Regions from separate parts of the Homo sapiens genome. Here regions 1, 3, 4 and 5 are each linked to region 2. Evidence: promoter capture Hi-C in 16 types of primary human blood cells and fetal thymus (Javierre and others, 2016). All regions are on one chromosome and are shown on one strand. The core of a region is centred on a gene start or on the middle of the fragment in contact, and the rest is flanking DNA. Distances in the headings are between cores, read along the strand shown. Region 1 overlaps NPAT (nuclear protein, coactivator of histone transcription). Region 2 holds the start of EXPH5 (exophilin 5). Region 3 overlaps ATM (ATM serine/threonine kinase). Region 4 overlaps CUL5 (cullin 5). Region 5 overlaps ACAT1 (acetyl-CoA acetyltransferase 1).

Region 1 (2,700 bases), core at 138-2,637, 380 kb before region 2:
TTAAAAATTTAGCTGGGTATGGTGGCATGTGCCTATAGTTCCAGTTACTTGGGAGGGTGAGGTAGAAGGATAGTTTTAGTCTGGGAGGCTGAGGCTGCAGTGGGCCATAATCATGCCACTGCAGTCCAGCCTGGATGACAGAGTAAGAACCTGTTTCAAAAGCAAAACAAAACAAAACAAAACTCTACCAAAGAAACCAAAAAAAACAAAATCCAACACCCTTTCATGATAAAAACACTAGAAATAAAAAGAAATTTCCTCAACCTCATAGAGTTATCTATTAAAAAAAAAAAAAGCCAAGTAACATCATCTTCAATGGTTTAAAATTCAAACCTTTCCCCATAAGATCAGGGAAAAGGTAAGAAGGTCTGTTCTTGTCATTTCTATTCAACATTGCATGTATCCTCTAGCCAGGGCAATTAGGAAAAAACTTGAAATAAAAAGCATCCAGGCCGGGTGCAGTGGCTCACACCTGTAATCCCAGCACTTTGGGAGGCCGAGCTGGGCGGATCATTTGAGGTCAGGAGTTCCAGACCAGCCTGCTCAACATGGTGAAACCCCGTCTCTACTAAAAATACAAAAATTAGCCAGGTGTGGTGGTGCATGCCTGTAATGCCAACTACTCAGGAGGCAGAGGCAGGAGAATTGCTTGAATCCGGGAGGTGGAGGTTGCAGTGAGCTGAGATAGGGCCACTGCACTCTAGCCTGGGCAACAGAGAGAGACTCCGTCTCAAAAGAAAAAAAAAAAAAGCATCCAGATTGGAAAGGAAAAAATCAAGATTACCCCTATTTGCAGATGACATGTCTTATATAGAAAATCCTAAGGAAGCCATAAAAAACAACAACAACAACAACAAAAAAACTATTAGAGGCCAGGCACCACGGCTCATACCTATAATCCCAGCACTCTGGGAGGCCAAGGCAGGCAGATTGCCTGAGGTCAGGAGTTCGAGACCAGTCTGGCCAACATGGTGAAACCCCGTCTCTACTAAAAATACAAAAAAATGAGCCAGGCATGGTGGTGTCCACCTTAATCCCAGCTGCTAGGGAGGCTGAGGCAGGGGAATCACTTGAACCAGGGAGGTGGAGGTTGCAATGAGCCGAGATGGTGCCATTGCACTCCAGCCTGGGCAACAGAGCAAGACTCTGTCTCAAAAAAAAAAAAAAAAAAAAAAAAAAAGGAGTTAAGAAACCTCCCTGGGCGGGGCATGGTGGCTCATGCCTATAATCCAGCACTTTGGGAGGCCAAGGCCAGCAAATCACCTGAGGTCGGGAGTTCGAGACCAGCCTGACCAACATGGAGAAACCCTGGTGCTACTAAAAATACAAAGTTAGCTGGGCAAGGTGATGCATGCCTGTAATCCCAGCTATTCCAGAGGCTGAGGCAGGAGAATCGCTTGAACCCGGGAGGCAGAGGTTGTGGTGAGCCAAGATTGCGCCATTGCACTCCAGCCTGGGCAACAAGAGCGAAACTCTGTCCCAAAAACAAAACGAAACAAAACAAAAACTATTAGAGCTAATAAATGACTTCGACAAGGTTGCAGGATACACAGTGAATATATAAAAGTCAATAAATCTCAATGAACTACCAAAAATTAAGAATGCAATGCTAGTTACAATAGCATCAAAAGAAATAAAATACTTAGGAATAAGTTTAACAAAAGTAAAGGACTTGCATACTAAAAACTGGAAAACGTCACTGGAGGAAATTAAAGACCTAAATCCACGCAAAGACATACTGTGTTCATGGACTGAAAGGTTCAATATTGTTAAAAACTCAATACTCCCAAAATTCACCGATACATTCAACACAATTCCTATCATAATCTCAACTGCCTTTTGTGCAGAAATTGACAAACATCCTAAAACTCCTAAGGTAATACAAGGGGGCTGGAATAGCCAAAATAATCTTGAAAATGAAGAAAAAGTTGAAGCACTTACACTTACCAATTTCAAAACTTACTGTAAAGCTACAGTAATCCAGACGATGTACGGGCATGAGGTTAGACACAGAAATTAGTGGAACAAAATAAAAAATCCAGACCTTTCTTATTTATCTAGTCAACTCTGAAGCATGGAATCCAGACATTTATGGTCAGTTTATTTTTTTTCAGAGACAGAGTCTTGCTCTGTCACCCAGGCTGAAGTAGAGTGGCTCAATCATAGCTCACTATAACCTTGAACTCCTGGGCTGAAGTGATCCTCCCACTTCAGCCAACCCAGTAGCTAGGACTAGAGGCATGTACCACCAAATAAATGCCCAGCTAATTACTTACTTATTGGTACAGATGGGGTGTCTCAGTATGCTGCCCAGGCTGGTCTCGCTCCCCTGGCTTCAAGCAATCCTCCTGCCTTGGCCTCCCAAAGTGTTGGGATTACAGGGTGAGCCATTACAGCTGGCCTGCATTTTTCATAACAGTGTCCATTAATGAATGGACAAACAAAATATGGCATATTCATATAATGAAATATTCAGCTATAAAAAGGAATGAAGTACTAATACCTGCTACAACATGGAATAAGGCTGAAAACATTATGCTATGTGAAAGTCAGACACAAAAAGCGAAATATTCTATTTCATTTATGTGCAATGTCCAGGCAAGGCACATGTATAGATACAGAAAGTAGATTTGTGGTTGGCAGAGGACGGGGCAAGGGGGAATTGGAAGTGACTTAATAGTATAAGGATTCTCTTTGGAG
Region 2 (2,700 bases), core at 102-2,601:
CCTGGAACTCGCATTAGCAAGCAGTTGATCATAAAACAAAATGACTTGCTAAATTCCAATCAATGGCACACAGTGTGGTCTGAGAGTGATGTCCTGAATTCCCTTCCACAGTTATCTAGAGAAGGACTTAGATGGATATATTCCAATATTGGCGAGAGAGTCCCTTTAATTCATTCCAGCACTTATCCCACACTTCCCCAGCAGAAAAACTGGTTAATGTACATCCTGGGTAATTATCTGTGTCTCTGGATTTCATTCTTTAGTAACTAATCCCTCACCTACAACAGTGTATAGTAAGGTCAAGGATGAAATTTCTCAGAAACTCGCTCCCCACAGCACCACGCACAAGAAGACCCACCCATTCCAGCCAACCCCGTGTGTCCAAGTCCCATTCGCCCACATAAGCCTCTATTTGACAAATTCCTCGAGCTCCTACCCTTGGGGTGGGGACCTTTCGCCTCCCGTGAGGTGCCGGCTCTCCCGTGCTTCGCTGACTGCCCGCATTGGGTGGGGAGATTCGCCTCTGGTGCCGAGGGAAAACTGCGTTAGGCGAGGGTGGAAGCTCTGTCGGACCCGTGCGAGCACGTGGGTGCGCGCGGGCCGCGGAGTGAGCAGCAGCCAGGATTCCTCTCCAGATCGCGCCCCCGCCGCATTTCATTGCCTGAAACGGCCCACGCCCCGCGATGGCCCAGCAGACACCCGGCACAGCACAGCGTCACTGCGCGGCCCCCGCAGCGCACGGACCCCCCCACCCTGCCCGACCCCAGACCCGCAGCCGAGCCCGTCTGGTATGTGGTGGGTGGAGAGGGTACCAACTAAGCATCCCAAAGTCCTTCAGGGAGCAACTCCGCGCAGTTTTCTCTTCCCGACCCGCAGCCTCCGCAGCAGCCGCTCGGAGCACCCCCGGGCAGGTGCCCCGCGCGAGCTCAGCGCCTTCCCCGCGGATCCCCGGCCCCTGCGGGACCCAGGCCCAGGACAAAAGAAATGAATTTGCTCTGTACCTGATCCTGTCCTTCTCGGCCCTCTGTAACTCCTCATTCCTTTCCAGCACCTGAAGGATCTTCCTGGCCTCTTCGTCATTTAAGAAACTGAAATCAAACGCCGGAGGAACTTTCGTCATTTTCTTTACTGTGTGTGAGTTACACTTAAGCTCCTTGGCGCCTCCTGTTAGGAAGGCATTTTTCAACCTGTACAAGACCAGTTTCACGAACTTGATCCCACAGCCAATAATAAGTCCGCCCCTTTGAAAGTCTAAAACCACAAACCTAGGGAACGCCCACACCTGAAGGGCTCATATTGACAATACCTTAATGACATGTTTCTCTCAACCTGTCCAACCGAGATGCAAAGTGAACGGCTAAAGGGAGAGAGGGAACCAATCCCGTTCCAAGGGGGCGGGCCCTCCCTTGTCCCCTCCCTCGTCCCCTCCCTCGTCTCGTCCCGTCCCTCGTCCCCTCCCTCGTCCCCTCCGGTCACCCTCCCCGCCCCCTATCTGAGTTGTTAAGCAAACAAGCCTACATAATTCTGCCTCTTAAGTGAGGCAAGGCTAAGTGTTGGCGCCAAAGTATTTGCTTTTGCTGTTGCTGTTTGCTCGCAGAACTTGAGCTTGATTAGTAAAGGAGTGAAAAAGGAGATTCATGACTAATCCTCCCTTTCAATAATTAAGAGCCCATAGAAAATAGAATTGCAAGTAGGGTTTGTAACTGGCAAAAGGGTTACTTATCTGAAAGACCAGGAAGAACTAAACTCAATTACACTACTGACTGTGGATGAACCTGGCTGAAGGGCGGAAATTAGTGTATCCTTGGAAACGAATTATTTGCCAAGCCTCTCATCCCACAGACACCCCCACCTCCACTGTCCCACAAAAGTCATTCTTAGACTTTAGAAACAAACAAACAAACAAACAAAACCGTTTATGGTATTTTAGGAGAAGACAGCCCAGAAGCAAAGGACTGTAGAAAACACCTGTTAGAAGTTTTCTGTAAGATTTTATTATCATCTTAATAAACTCAGAGAAGTAATACACATGCCATTTAAAAATACCTAATCCTCTGGTGAAAGCAAATGGTAATCCTATGAAGCCACAGAAATAGCTTTCCTAGAAAGTCAATTGTTCCACAATGCAATGAAGAATAATAGAAACTTATAAAGATATTCACATATATACTTTTTTTTTAATTATCAAGGCTTTTACAGAAAACATGTTTTTATCTTGGCTTCACTTCCTACCCAAAAATAACTCTGTCAGATTGACTTTCCTGCCCCATAGCCTTAATTTGGTCATTTTGAAGATGGTGGTGATGATTACTAACATATAAAATGTACTTCTACATATATCATTTCTTTTCATGGCACATAAACCCAATTAAAATTTTGTATCTGTACAAGAACATGATATCAAAAATTGCCACTTGTGTTTTGTTCTCTGGGCTACCCCATTTGATCATCATTATTTAAAACATGCCTAGGCAGCTAGCCATTCAGATAACTTTCTGTGGGTGTCTGTTATTTGTGTGAACCAGGAACCAATTTTGTTCACCCATGGTGTACACAATACAGAACTCCTTTATAAATAGTGTCTGTATTAATGATCCTGTTTTGGGAGTATGTCTTGTATATGGTGTCCAGTTTTTCTAGTGTGTTCATTTATTCAGCATACACATGGGACTTTTCAATATGGTCACTGGTGGGATTTTA
Region 3 (2,700 bases), core at 24-2,523, 260 kb before region 2:
ATCTTAAATACATTGTCTTTCTTTTCATTTTGCAGTTTAGTGCTTAGTATCTAGTTACTTGATTTGAAATGTAGCTGTATCATGTGGATTAACTGCTGTTTTTCTAGCTATATCAGCTAGGTGATTTCGCTGAATGTTTCCTTAAAATGCCAGATTTAGCAGTTATAACCCAGAAAACTCCTTCTACTGTTTTCCAAAATTTACTTTATGTTTTCGTGAGGAGTTATTTCTCAGATGACTTTACATATATTAGTGAATCTTTGATGAAACAGTAGTTAAAGTTACGAGCGTGAGCCACCACACCCGGCCTAAAGTTGTAGTTCTTAACCACTATCACATCGTCATTTGTTTCTCTGTTTAATATTAAAATTGCCATTTATAATGTATTTTTCTTTAAGTGCAAATAGTGTATCTGACCTATTATCAATCATGTTTATACTTTTATTAGGTGGACCACACAGGAGAATATGGAAATCTGGTGACTATACAGTCATTTAAAGCAGAATTTCGCTTAGCAGGAGGTGTAAATTTACCAAAAATAATAGATTGTGTAGGTTCCGATGGCAAGGAGAGGAGACAGCTTGTTAAGGTGAGCCTTCCCTTCTCTGGCTTAGCCCTTAGAGTTTTAGTGATGAAAATTTTTAGTTCATATTTTCTTTCTGCTTTATTTGGGATTTTGTCTTTATTTTGAATACTTACAAATGAGGAAGATTTGTAGAGTAGAAATGCATTATTTTCTAGAACCAGGCTTTTCTCCATTTTTTTTGTGTCTCTGAAAGACAATCATTATTATATGGTTGATTCAAGTAAAAGAATACCATTAACATGTACAGACATGTACAGTGAGGTTGCTTCTTATGAAAAAAAATACTTTGGTGTCTGTCTCTTATTTCCTTGAATAGTGCAAGTTGACGTCCTTTGCATCAGTATACCGGGTCTCGTACTGTGCCAAGTGCTATTTAATGTACCAAAAAGGGAGAGCATTCTTCCCTTACCATTTGCTGACGAGCTCTTTGGGTCCTACTGGGGAGTGGTGGAAAGACACAGTGCTGTTTTACTCAGGTGTTTGCAGTATGCCTTCCTAGGGGGGACTTCCAGTTAATCTAATTACAGAAGTAGCGAGGGGAAACTTTCTAAATCAGTGTAAATGTTGTAGCTTATTCTAAATGAAAGAATGGCAGTAGGTATTTAATTATTTGGGAGACTGTCAAGAGGTGCACAGATGCTCAGATTGGTTTGAGTGCCCTTTGCTATTCTCAGATGACTCTGTGTTTTTATAATAAAATAAACTGTACTTGTTTATTCATGCTTAATTATTCTGAAGGGCCGTGATGACCTGAGACAAGATGCTGTCATGCAACAGGTCTTCCAGATGTGTAATACATTACTGCAGAGAAACACGGAAACTAGGAAGAGGAAATTAACTATCTGTACTTATAAGGTAACTATTTGTACTTCTGTTAGTTCACCAAAAACATATAAAAGATGCCATTTGGTTGGGTGAAGTGGCTCATGCCCATATTCATAATGCTTTGGGAGGCCAAGGTGGGAGGATTGCTTGAGGCCAGGAGTTCGAGACCAGCCTCAGCAACATAGTGAGACCCCATCTTGACAAAAAGTTAAAAAAAAAAAAAAAGCCAGAGATGATGGCATGTGCTTGTAGTCCCTTAGCTACATGGGAGGCTGAGGTGGGAGGATCACTTGAGTCCAGGAGTTTGAGGCTGCAGTGAGCTCAAACTCTGCAGTGAGCCCCAGTCCAGCCTGAGCAACACAGCAAGATCCCGTTTAAAAAAGAAGAAGAAGAAGAAGATGCCATTATTTGGACCAGGAGTCTACAAATGTTTTCTGTGAAGGACCAAATAATAAAGATTTATTTTCTTTGTAAAAAGTATTTATTAATGTTAATTATAGTTAGGTGTTTCTTATAGTCAACTGAAGTATTTTTTCCTTTTTTTTCTACTCAACAATATGTCACAGAAATCTTTCTCATTTTTTAACAGCTGCATTGTGTGTATGTATGTAGTTTTTTATACAAGTCCTTATCGATGGGCATTTGTGTTGTTTTCAGTCTTTTGCTGCTACAAACAACGCTGTATTGTAGTGAATAACCTTGAACATACAAATTTCATACATGCGCAGGCAAATTTGTAGCATGGATTTCCAAAAGTTGGATTGCTGGGTTAGAGGATACATGCATCTGTAATCTGGTACATATTGCCAAATTACTCTCAATGGGAGTGTACCCACTTACATTTCCTCTAGCTATTTGCCTGAGAAGACAATCCTCAGTCACATTCTATGAGCTGATCATCTTTGACTCTTATATTAATTATTCATTTAACCAGTTTAGAAATAACAATAAATCCTTATTTTGAAGGGCCTATTTTCCATAGGTTTGTCTTTTGTGATTTCATTCCTGTACCTCATTTTTAAACTTTCTCCTTCTATAAATGTTGTAACAGGGACTATGGGTGACATGTGCTTTTTTATATATTTCTAGTTTTCCACTATGAACGTGTTTTATTTTTAAAATAATGGCTAAATTAAAAGCCCTAAATAGGGGAGTGAAGAAGAATAAATTAGATCTACCCTCCAAAATGCTGCTTGAGTTAGGCTATTGTAATAAAAAGCAGAACTTGGTTTTGAGCTTCTTAACTGCTTTCAGAGACTAAATATAAAACTTATTGGTTGGGAGAGGGG
Region 4 (2,700 bases), core at 90-2,589, 490 kb before region 2:
TTTTGCATTATTTGCAGTAAGATGTCTCTAGCACTGCTCAAAGGGCAAATTTTAAAACTTCAGTCTGGGTGAAAGATTTGCTAGTTTTACAGAAAGATTTGCTATCTTAAACTCAAGCTGGTTTTTCTGTTCTCATGTAAGTGACTGGGATGCTGTCTTATGAATTCTTCCAAGGTCATGTTTGTGAAATAAACATTACATGAGAGCTTTCCTGTCATCTACACTATATGTTGTCTGGAGTGTTGAACAAATTTATTTTAGTTTCTAAGTTGTAATCTATCCTCATATGGTCTATACGATTTTGAATGTGTGCCACTACATACTGAGATGATAATGCTGTACAATTTTAAGTGGTAGCAGTTTCTGTATGCAGTAGGCTGAAATATTTTGATGAACTGCTTAATTTTTGGATTTTATTTTTTAAGTTGTATAATTTATTTTCTTGCAAAATAAAAATGTAATATAAAAGCTTTTACCTATCCAGAAAATGTTGATGTTCTACTATAAAATAGTTACAAAGAGTTTAATTAAAATTTTTATAGTAGGTATATTTTTAAATTTGAAGGTAAATTAATCTCAGCCAGCCTTAGGAATCAGAAATATGAAAAGTAACCCACTTATTTATATTAGACTTCAAATTCTAATTCAAAATGAGAGCAGTCAGGAATGTAGCTTTTCCACTGATGATAGCATGTGGCTATATGCCTGGAAGAGGTAATAAAAAAAAAAAAATTCCAACCTGAAAGTGGTTAATATATTCATCAACTAAGATAGGCTATGTCATAACAAAATTCAAATTTTATAGCAGATAAAAGTAAAAAATGGGCCGGGCTCAGTGGCTCACGCCTGTAATCCCAGCACTTTGGGAGGCCAAGGTGGGTGGATCACCTGAGGACAGGAGTTCAAGACCAGCCTGGCAAACATGGTGAAACCCTGTCTCTACTAAAAATATAAAAATTAGCCGGGTGTAGTAGCGCGCGCCTGTAGTCCCAGCTACTCGGAAGGCTAAGGCAGGAGAATCGCTTGAACCCGGGAGGCGGAGGTTGCAGTGAACCAAGATTGTGCCACTGCACTCCAGCCTGGGCGACAGAATGAGACTGTCTCAAAAAAAAAAAAAAAAAAAAAAAAAAAGTAAAAAATGTAAAACATAATCATTTCACATTTTGGATATATTTGAAAATTTGTGAAATACTTATTTTTGTTTTTATTTTTATTTTTTGAGACAGAGTCTCACTTTGTCACCCAGGCTGGAGTGCAGTGGCGCGATCTCGGCTCGCTGTAAGCTCCATCTCCTGGGTTCATGCCATTCTCCTGCGTCAGCCTCCCGAGTAGCTGGGACTACAGGCGCCTGCCACCACACCTGGCTAATTTTTTGCAGTTTTAGTGGAGACAGGGTTTCACCATGTTAGCCAGGATGGTCTCAATCTCCTGACCTCGTGATCTAGCTGCCTCGGCCTCCCAAAGTGCTGGGATTACAGGTGTGAGCCATCGCGTCTGGCCTGAAATACTTATTTTTAAGCTAGAAATAGTTTGGCAATAAGGTTGTGAAACTGGACAGATAATAGCAATTAGTTACTGATCAAGTGAACAATTTAATAATCGAAAAAACTCTTGACTATAAGAAACTTGAATTGCATACAGGGACTTAATTACCCAGAGGAACTAAATTTAAAAGAAATTTCAGGCTGGGCGCAGTGGCTCACACCTGTAATCCCAGCACTTTGAGAAGGTGAGGTGGGCAGATCACTTGAGGTCAGGAGTTCAAGAACAGCCTGGCCAACATGGCAATACCCCATCTCTACTAAAAATACATACCTGTAATCCCAGCTACTCAGGAGGCTGAGGCATGAGAATCACTTGAGCCTGGGAGGTGGAGGTTGTAGCAAGCTGAGATCGCACCACTGCGCTCCAGCCTGGGCAACAGGGCCAGACTAATTCATTCATTGATTCATAAATAAATGTTATAGAGCTCCTTTACATTGAGGGATCATTTCTTGTTCCTACTGTAGTAGTCAATAAATGTTTTGGACAACTGGATGGAGGAACACATTTGACTTCATAACGACTCTAAACTCAACCTTGGACTTAAACTGGCATTTGGGAGTTTGGGGTTGGGGGAGGAGTTGACTTGGAAATGAAGCTAGAGAAGGTATTTTCTCAGTATAAAATTTCATCTGAACCAAGAAACAGATTTCATTTAAACCAAGAAATAAGCTTAAGCTTTTGGGCCCCTTGTACAAGGCTCTGGGAGGGGGAGCCCTACAAGTTTTGTATTTTCTTAAAGAGGGTCCTCAAAATATCAAGTTGGATTCAGCCCTGTTAAACCTCAGTGTAAAAAGGGCACATAGTAGGACTGAATGAATGATAGCACATGTGCCTGAGAATATAGTTCAATGTTTTAGTTCTTTTTTTTTTTTTTTTTTTTTTTTTGAGATAGAGTTTCTGTCACCTAGGCTGGAGTGCAGTGGCACAATTGCAGATCATTGCAGCCTTGAACTCCTGGGCTCCAGTGATCCTCCCACTTTAGCCTCCTGAGTAGCTGGGACCACAGGCACACACCACCTAGGTAATTTTTTTTTTATTTGCCTAGGTAATTTTTTTTTTATTTGCGGAGAGGAGGTCTCACTATGTTGCCCAGGCTGGTTTCGAACTCCTGAGTTCGAGCAGTCCTCCTCCCTTGGCATCCAGGAGTGCTGGGAT
Region 5 (2,700 bases), core at 27-2,526, 450 kb before region 2:
TCTTAGCTCACTGCAGCCTCCGCCTCCTGGGCTCAAGCAATTCTCCTGCCTCAGGCTCCCGAGTAGCTGGGACTACAGGCACGTGCCCCCATGCCCGGCTAATTTTTAGTAGAGACGGGGTTTCACCATGTTGGCCAGGATGGTCTTGATCTCCTGACCTCATGATCTGCCTGCCTTGGCCCCCCAAAGTGCTGGGATTACAGGCATGAGCCACCACCTCCGGCCTAAGAAATATATTTTAAGAAACGTTAACTATTAAACACTATAAGTTAGGCAAAGTTAATAGATATTTTCTAAATTATGCAAAGTTAACTTTAAAATATTTCAACTTTTTATCAGGGCAGCTGTGCTGAGAATACAGCAAAGAAGCTGAATATTGCACGAAATGAACAGGACGCTTATGCTATTAATTCTTATACCAGAAGTAAAGCAGCATGGGAAGCTGGGAAATTTGGAAATGAAGTTATTCCTGTCACAGTTACAGTAAAAGGTAGAGATAATGTTCCAAAAAGGATGAATAGACTTTTCATGTTGCTGAATGTTTTATGCTTAAGTTTTAAATTAGGACATTATCTTGGTTCATTTCAACTGCTTATGGTTAATAAAAAGTGAAGAGTTGCCAGTTCAGAGAGAATATAAATCTACCCAACTTAATGTCAGATTTCAATCCATTTATAAGATCCCTGAGTATTACTTTAAATTTGAGAAATTTATTAGAACTTTTTCCTGTGACAGTCAATACGGTATTTTAAATTGAAAAGGGATTTACTAGAAGGTTACCGGGAGTGCCTCCAAGAACTGAAGGATGAACAGTAGCAACCATTCAGCTCTGGGAACTTCAGGGATTGGAACTGGGTGTTCACTACTACTAAGACATGCTCTCTTGGCTTCTCACACCTGCAGGCTTTTGTGCTTTATTCTCTCAGCCTTTCTAAAGTTGCTGCCTCTACCTCTAGGGTCACATATATAGGGTTCTCAAAAAGGAGAGACTTTCTCACCAGTTCCAGCAGAATAAATCCACAATGAAGACTCATTAACTTGCTTTAGGTTACAATTCTATTCCAGGAATGATTACTGTGCTCTAGGTGACAGAATACTAGAGCTTATCTAGTGTAGGTCAGACAGCTGCCTCTGGGGTCAGGAGAGTGGGGTCTGTGATCATAGAAGGGAGTTGAGGAAGAAAAGGGGACATGGAGGTGTAGAAGATTTAAATTTTGTGGCTGGGTGCAGTGGCTCACACCTGTAATCCCAACACTTTGGGAGGCCGAGGTGGGAGGATTGCTTGAGCCCAGGAGTTTGAGACCAGCCTGGGCAACGAAGTGAGACTTGGCCTCCACACAAAAAAATTAAAAATTAGCTGGGTATAGCAGCACACGCCTGTAGTCCCAGCTACTAGGGAATCCAAGGCAGGAGGATCAATTGAGCCCAGGAGTCCGAGGCTGCAGTGAGCTAGGTTTGTAGCATTGCACTCTATTGGGAGACTGTGCAAGACCATTTCAAACAAACAAAATTAGCTGGCTGTGGTGGCTCCCACCTGTAGTCCCAGCTACTTGGGAGGCTGAGGTGGGAGGATCACATGGGCCTGGAGAGGATGAGGTAAACTGTGATCATGCCAGCCTAAGCAGGAGAGGGAAACCCTGCCTCAAAAAAAAAAAAAAAAAAAAAAAAAATTGTGAAGCTACTTTGTAAGTTTCTCTTTTTAAGATGGTAACATAATAGAGGTTATAGTTAACAGATTCTAGATGAGTGTTTACTTGGGATGGTTTAAGTGAAGCAGGGATACAAAGGGAGGCACAGACTACTAGGCATCTTGTACAACAGTTGCTTGCTGAATGACTACTTGTTTTGAGCGATTTTACTTAAAATATTTTTATTTTAGGTCAACCAGATGTAGTGGTGAAAGAAGATGAAGAATATAAACGTGTTGATTTTAGCAAAGTTCCAAAGCTGAAGACAGTTTTCCAGAAAGAAAATGGTTAGTGTTAAGAAATGAAGCATAAGAAAAAATTGAGCCAGTATACCATATCTAGTTCTTAGAATTGCCTAAGGATTTTGAAAAATTCTAGAAAACATCTAGATGTTATTTAACATTTTCAGTATATCAGGCTCATGTAAAATTGTTTTGGTAGTTTATACCTTCAATATATAAATCCCAGGGAAGATATGTATAACATGACTATAGAATTCAGTTTTTCATATGTAGCAGTCTATGATAGGGTCTTCATTGGCATTGAAAAAAACAGATTTATTGATATAATTTATATACCATAATAACATTCTTCTATTTAAAGTGGTTTGGTAGTTTTTAACATTCATTTATATTTATCTCCAGGTGATTCTAGATAAGAATAAATATCTGATTTGAAAAATATGTAGTGAGTACCTGCTATATATTGAATAAGGAAAGTTAGACCCTGGAGACAAAAATATTAACTGGTCCCTATGTTTCAAGAGTTGTAGACGAGCATTTATCCAGTGCCATCATGCATGTTTGTGATGTTTGAGAAAACTGTTTTATGTACACAAAAAGGCATTCTTACATTGTCTTGCAGTTAGCTGTGTACATGTTTCCTGAGGGCAGGAATTGTCTCCACCCATATTTGTAATTTCTTTAAACATTTAGCAGCCCAGGCAATAGGTATTTGTTGAATTGAACCAAATACATTTATTGTGAAGGAATGTTTTGACTTCAACCTCATT

What was found. The method cuts DNA at HindIII sites, captures the fragments that hold promoters and counts their contacts. A CHiCAGO score of 5 or more calls a contact.
Region 1: a contact is called between a fragment that was not itself captured here and the fragment with the promoter of EXPH5 in region 2, in 1 of 17 cell types (naive CD4 T cells). The highest score is 6.0, in naive CD4 T cells.
Region 3: a contact is called between a fragment that was not itself captured here and the fragment with the promoter of EXPH5 in region 2, in 1 of 17 cell types (naive CD4 T cells). The highest score is 6.3, in naive CD4 T cells.
Region 4: a fragment that was not itself captured here is called in contact with the fragment with the promoter of EXPH5 in region 2 in 1 of 17 cell types (naive CD4 T cells); the score reaches 7.3 in naive CD4 T cells.
Region 5: a fragment that was not itself captured here is called in contact with the fragment with the promoter of EXPH5 in region 2 in 4 of 17 cell types (naive CD8 T cells, total CD4 T cells, non-activated CD4 T cells and 1 more); the score reaches 6.2 in naive CD8 T cells.

Annotation. Positions count from the first base shown.
Region 1 is chr11:108,211,793-108,214,492 of GRCh38, forward strand. All of the region lies in intron 1 of NPAT (nuclear protein, coactivator of histone transcription), which reads right to left. Among named protein-coding and RNA genes, the nearest start is that of NPAT, 9.5 kb to the right of the region's middle. The HindIII fragment of the contact is 5,376 bases long and covers 1-2,700 here.
Region 2 is chr11:108,592,417-108,595,116 of GRCh38, forward strand. It overlaps EXPH5 (exophilin 5), which reads right to left and starts at 1,352. Exons shown (of 6, transcript NM_015065.3): 1 at 1,002-1,352. The coding sequence starts at 1,120. RefSeq lists silencers at 829-888, 1,169-1,218, 1,239-1,538. The HindIII fragment of the contact is 3,661 bases long and covers 1-2,700 here.
Region 3 is chr11:108,334,521-108,337,220 of GRCh38, forward strand. It overlaps ATM (ATM serine/threonine kinase), which reads left to right. Exons shown (of 63, transcript NM_000051.4): 55 at 449-589; 56 at 1,325-1,441. It also overlaps a transcript of C11orf65 not described here. Among named protein-coding and RNA genes, the nearest start is that of ATM, 110 kb to the left of the region's middle. The HindIII fragment of the contact is 3,297 bases long and covers 1-2,700 here.
Region 4 is chr11:108,107,294-108,109,993 of GRCh38, forward strand. CUL5 (cullin 5) reads left to right here. Exons shown (of 19, transcript NM_003478.6): 19 at 1-468. Among named protein-coding and RNA genes, the nearest start is that of ACAT1, 13 kb to the right of the region's middle. The HindIII fragment of the contact is 1,745 bases long and covers 468-2,212 here.
Region 5 is chr11:108,139,726-108,142,425 of GRCh38, forward strand. It overlaps ACAT1 (acetyl-CoA acetyltransferase 1), which reads left to right. Exons shown (of 12, transcript NM_000019.4): 7 at 340-490; 8 at 1,880-1,975. Among named protein-coding and RNA genes, the nearest start is that of ACAT1, 20 kb to the left of the region's middle. The HindIII fragment of the contact is 4,039 bases long and covers 1-2,700 here.